Regions from separate parts of the Homo sapiens genome. Here region 1 is linked to region 2. The links are contacts of gene promoters, found by promoter capture Hi-C in blood cells and fetal thymus (Javierre and others, 2016). All regions are on one chromosome and are shown on one strand. The core of a region is centred on a gene start or on the middle of the fragment in contact, and the rest is flanking DNA. Distances in the headings are between cores, read along the strand shown. Region 1 holds the start of TNFAIP8L2 (TNF alpha induced protein 8 like 2). Region 2 holds the start of ADAMTSL4 (ADAMTS like 4).

Region 1 (2,700 bases), core at 54-2,553, 610 kb before region 2:
AGCAAATGATACTTACATTAAGTAATTTACCCAAGATCAAACGCAACTCATTTTTTGGCCCCCAAAGCCAGTGGCAGCTAGTGCACTATACTTCCTTTAAAGTAAGAAGCATAAGCATCCCAGGAATCCTAATAGGAGTAATAACTAACATTTACTGAGAACCTACTATATGCAAGTGCTTTACGTCAGTCATCTTAGCCTTCCCAATCCTGTGTAAGGTTAGGGTAGGTATCCCCATTTTGCAATGAGAAAACTGAAGCGAAGAGAAATATAGCAATTTGGCCAAAGTCACTAGTAAATTATAAAGATGGGCTTCAAACCAAATAATCCAGAGAAACCTCCTTCCCCGGAATGCTCCCAGTGTGGTTAAAGCACACTGAGGAAGCACGAGAAGCCAACACCTCAAGAAGGGCAGGCAGTCCTGAAGGTCTGAGCCTTCTGCTACACTGAACTCAGGACCCTCTTGGTGGCATATCAGCTCCATGTGTCCAGGGTTCTCTCCCCATGGTCTTCGCCTGTGGTTCTTCTGGTTGTTTTGCTTCTTACTTCCCCCTCCTCTGCTCTGCAGGATGTGGCTGTGACCGCAGTGAGGAGCAGCCTCGCCCTCTCCCCCAAACCAAAATGGGAGTCTGAAGAGGCAGAGGAGGTGGAGACTGTGGGGGTTTTTTTCCCCAGCTGAATCCTTCCAGTGGAAACCTGAACCTTGCTTTGCTCCCAGCTTGCCTTGGGGCTTTCTGGACCATGCTCCCCAGCCGGAAGAGGAGATTGCTCCATGTGAGCCTTCCTTCCTCCTTGGCCTTCCTGTTACCCAGCTCTCCATTGCCCCCATTGCCGTCTCACATTTATTCCGCTGTCTTCTCCCTCTCTCCCTGTTTCAGTCTCCCTTTTTCTCTTGTCTGGGTCCTCCCTATGATCCTCTGGCCTGGCCATACTCTCCCTCTGGCCCTTACCCATCTATCTCCTTGTTTCCTAAGATTTCCTTGCATTTCGCACACATCCATATGGATGTGGATCCACCTGCATCCCTCAGCCCTGCCCCCACCGCATCCAAAACCAGGTCTTTCAGAGGCTGCCTTGCCACCAGAAAAACTAAGCTAAGCTCTACAAAGGACCCAAGAATTGTACAAGCGAGAGTTTCACAATATGAAAAGCTAAGACTGAAAGAGCTAGAGATTCCTCTGCCACCATTACCCCTAAAGTCTACCATTCTGTCACTGCCGGTCCCTCACCTGCTGTGCTGGGTGCCAGTCTTGCCTTGGATGTTCCCGGAAAGCTTACAGAATGGAGAAGCTTCACTTAGTGTGAGAGCCCTTTGGCTTGGCCCCACCCCTTGAGCCCCGCCTACCTACTCTCTGCTTAACCTCCGGTTCATCACTTCTGTCACCAAGAAGGCCTATGGCCCAAGAGCAACCTAGAAATAAGACAAAGGTCAAAAAGAGTGGAATTCTGTTGGAAATAGTCTCAATTCTTTGAAGGGGGGAAAGGGATTTGCATCCTCCACTCTCAAATTGCTTCTTTCTTTTCTTGCTGCCCAGTTCCTGAAGATCCTGTCCTTACATTTCTACAGTACTGGGAAGGATGTAAAGCCCAAATTTCTGGGGTAGGAGGTCAGTGGGAAAAGTTCTGAAGATTGAAAGGTGGTGCTGTGGGGCAAGTATTTAATATATTATTCCAGTGATTGCCAGGTAAGAGCACAGACTGTCACAACCCTTAATACTGAAGGGAGGAAGGTGCTGGGACCAGGGCTGCTGCACCACAGGTGACCAGCAGGTGCCAGCACAGCACTGAATCACTAGCGTAGAGGAACAAGCCTACTGAGTTGCCTTTTTTTTTTTTTTTTTTTTTTTTTTTGAGACAGAGTTTTGCTCTTGTTGCCCAGGCTGGAGTGCAATGGGGTGATCTCGGCTCACTGCAACCTCTGCCTCCCGGGTTCAAGTGATTCTCCTGCCTCAACCTCCCAAGTAGCTGAAATTACAGGCCTGTGCCACCATGCCTGGCTTATTTTGTATTTTTAGTAGAGACGGTTTCACCATGTTGGCCAGGATCGTCTTGAACTCCTGACCTCAGGTGATCCACCTTGGCCTTCCAGAGTGCTGGGATTACAGGTGTGAGCCAACGCACCCCGCAGGGCCTACTGAGTAGGCTACTGTAGTAGCTACTTTGTAGCTGCTAAAGGGATACAAAATGAGGGGAAGCCACAATTGGGTTTTGTTTGTTTGTTTGTTGTTTTGTTTTTGAGATAGGGTCTCACTCTGTCGCCCAGGCCACAGTGCAGTGGCATCATCACAGCTGACTGCAGCCTTGACCTCCTGGGCTCAAGAGCTCTTCCTACTTCAGCCTCCCAAGTAGCTGGGACCAGAGGCTCACAAGCCTTCCTTTTTTTTGTAGAGAGGAGGGTCTAACTATGTTGCCCAGGCTGAACTTCTAAGCTCAAGCAATCCTCCTACCTTAGTCTCCCAAAGTGTTGGGATTACAGGCGTGAGCCACTGCACCCATCCTGGAAGTCACAGTTGTTGAATGAGACAAAAACACTTGCTATCAAGAATCTTATGGGGAATCTGGCGAGGGAAATAAGCTTAAACATAAAGAACAGTAATACTAGTCAAACAATGCCATTAACTTTAATGGAGATTTAAATAATTTTGAGAGTAAAGAAGCTTAATTATGATAGGGCTGAAGAGGTAGACTTGGAAAGATAGA
Region 2 (2,700 bases), core at 178-2,677:
GTTCGGAATTTGAGGGAGGGGTCAGAGTGGCTGAGCCAGAGCGGGCGCCTCAGGGATTGGGGTTGGGGTGGGGGTTGCCGATGGCCACTCCTTCCCCTGGCTGGGCCGGCCACTAAGGTCAGCAACTCCACCCTGACTGAACGGGGGAGGCCAGGATCTCCAGAGAAGGGCCCATGTTCCACCCAAGTCTTCAGGCTCTGCCTGACTCTTGTTACTCCAGCTGAGGGAAGAAGAAATGGGGTGATAGTCACTGCCTGCCCCTTCTCTGATGCCGACCCCTCTTCATGCCCTCTCTGCCTCTGCTTCTCTCTGCCACCGAGATCTCTTCTCGCAGCCCCTCTCCACGGGTCTACCCAGTACACATAATCCCATCCCGAGCTGGGTTTGGCTTTGGCAGTTCCCTGGAGAAGTGAGGGGTGGGGGTGACGTGAGCTCCCGGGGCCCGGGCCAGGCCTGGCTCCCTCTCTGGAAAAGTCCCACCCCACCCTCCCCTGCGCAGCCCGGCAGGGGCCCATGCCCCCTCCTCTGCAGAAACACACGCACATTTATGCTTCTCACCCCTTTCCATGTCCCTCATTTGGTGTCGTTCCCGGCCCAGGACGAGGAAAGGAGAGGTCAGAGGTGGTCACTCTGGTGCCAGAGTAGACCCTGGTCTGGACAAACGCGGGCTCCTCCTGGCCACACCTCTCCACACTGCCCAGTGAAGACCAAGGAACAGAGACCTGCGCAGGGCTCACCCCTTCACCCCCAGGTCTCCCTGCTGGAGAGTGGTTGGACCCTGTGTTTCTGGGCCTAGCCATGGAGAATCCCTGTCCTGAGTCCGAATTCCCGGGCCCTCAGAGCCCTCCACTCCTGGGTCTGGCAGGCCACCCCAACAGGTGTCTTTCTTTTTTGTCAACCTCTTCTGCCATCGGGCTGAGCTGGATCAAGGGCACCCACCTGCGTCCCTCGCGGCGACCCTGTCCTCCAAGTTCAGGAGTGCAGTGGGGGACACACCGTCCGAGAGCACCCTCCTAGAGAGAGGGCAGGAGGCACCGGCCGCGCGGGGAGGTCATGGGTCTGTTTTCCAACTTTACTATGTGACTTAGGAGGAATTTTGGTTCACTCCCCGCCCGGGTGATGGGGCCAGAGTTCCACGGGATCAGACTCCCTCCCCAGGAATTCGACCCCAGGGGCTGGAAGATTGTCCGAGGCCACCGGAGCTGGGTCCGGGGTCGTGGCGGGGTCGCGACCGCACAGCGCAGGGAGAGGGGACGACGCGGGCGCGCGGGGCGGGCGGTCTAACGGGACCCGGGAGAGGGGCGGCCGGGGCCGGGGTCCCGGGGAGGTCTCTACCTGCTCTGCGAGCCCCCGGTGGCCCGTTAACCCTTCTGCGCCCAGGCGCTCTCTCCAGGCAACCTCGCTCCGCGGCGGCCACTGGGGCCCCTGAGCCGCGCTCCGGTCACGGCCGCCTCGGCCGCAACTCCGCCCTCGCGCCCGCCCCCGCCCAGCCCCGCCCGCCACGCGCCCCAGCCCGCGCCCCTCGGCGGCCCCGGGGTGGGGCCGGTCTGCCTCGCAGCCCCACTCGCCAGGACCACCCACCCCGGGCTGCGCGCCGGGCGCCCCCCGACGGCTGCGTGAGCTGAAGCCCGGGCTGGCCCAGCCGGGGTCGGAGGCTGCAGTCGCTCCCGGGCGCTGTCCTCGTGCCCGGCCGAGACTAGGGACTTAAGCAGCCCGGGCTGGCCCAGCCGGGGTCAGAGGCTGCAGTCGCTCCCGGGCGCTGTCCTCGTGCCCGGCTGAGACTAGGGACTTAAGCAACCCGGGCCTCCGAGCCGCTCGGGTGAGCGGTGCGAACACGGCGCGGCGCGGCGCGGCACAGGCGGGGCAGCCTCCAGGGGCGCCTGGAGCGAGGCGGCCTGGGAGAGCCGCTGGTCCGGGAGGGAAGCGCCCTGGACGGAGGTACCCGCGGCCCCCGATCCGCGTGGGTCCAGGCTCTCCCCTCCACGCAGCCTCCCCTGCAAACTCAGTCACTCCTGCCTCTCCCGTGTTGGGCAGTGGTGGTTCAGATTGCTGGGACTTCTATGAGCTTCGGTTTTTTTCCTCAGTAAGGTTTTACACTCGGGACTCAGCGAAAGGACAGCGTGCTGACTTCTGAGTCAGACTGATCTGGATTTGAACCTCAGCTCCAGCTCTTGCCAGCTATGTGGTCTTCGACGAATACTTCCACCCCTGTGTGGTGCAGTTTGCTCATCTGCAAAATGGGACTAATCTAATATATATGATGGGCTTGGATATGTCTCTTTATGCATTTATACATGGAAGAATGCACCCCAAACTCAGTAGTATTGGTGACATCTGGGGAGGGATGCAGGGTTGGGGGAGGACTGAAAAAGGCTTTTGCTTTTTACTCTGCGTTATGTTTATTATTATTATATTATTATTTATTTATTTTTTTTGAGACGGAGTCTCACTCTGTCGTCCAGGCTGGAGTGCAGTGGTGCTATCTTGGCTCACTGCAAGCTCCGCCTCCCAGGTTCACGCCATTCTCCTGCCCTAGCCTCCTGAGTAGCTGGGACTACAGGCGTCTGCCACCACGCCCGGCTAATTTTTTGTATTTTTAGTAGAGACGGGGTTTCATCGTGTTAGCCAGAATGGTCTCGATCTCCTGACCTCGTGATCCGTCCGCCTCGGCCTCCCAAAGTGCTGGGATTACAGGCGTGA

Evidence for each region. The method cuts DNA at HindIII sites, captures the fragments that hold promoters and counts their contacts. A CHiCAGO score of 5 or more calls a contact.
Region 1: a contact is called between the fragment with the promoter of TNFAIP8L2 here and the fragment with the promoter of ADAMTSL4 in region 2, in 1 of 17 cell types (erythroblasts). The highest score is 5.2, in erythroblasts.

Annotation. Positions count from the first base shown.
Region 1 is chr1:151,155,252-151,157,951 of GRCh38, reverse strand. It overlaps TNFAIP8L2 (TNF alpha induced protein 8 like 2), which reads right to left and starts at 1,303. Exons shown (of 2, transcript NM_024575.5): 1 at 1,230-1,303. TNFAIP8L2-SCNM1 (TNFAIP8L2-SCNM1 readthrough) reads right to left here and starts at 1,303. Exons shown (of 7, transcript NR_144937.2): 1 at 1,230-1,303. It also overlaps a transcript of LYSMD1 not described here. The HindIII fragment of the contact is 1,285 bases long and covers 1,293-2,577 here.
Region 2 is chr1:150,548,135-150,550,834 of GRCh38, reverse strand. ADAMTSL4 (ADAMTS like 4) reads right to left here and starts at 1,427. Exons shown (of 19, transcript NM_019032.6): 1 at 1,336-1,427; 2 at 940-1,013. It overlaps LOC124904417, which reads right to left and starts at 545. Exons shown (of 1, transcript XM_047438226.1): 1 at 1-545. The coding sequence starts at 545. It overlaps ADAMTSL4-AS2 (ADAMTSL4 antisense RNA 2), which reads left to right. Exons shown (of 6, transcript NR_187269.1): 6 at 2,085-2,271. RefSeq lists an enhancer at 1-221 and silencers at 1,557-1,696, 1,867-2,016, 1,948-2,242. The HindIII fragment of the contact is 42,411 bases long and covers 1-2,700 here.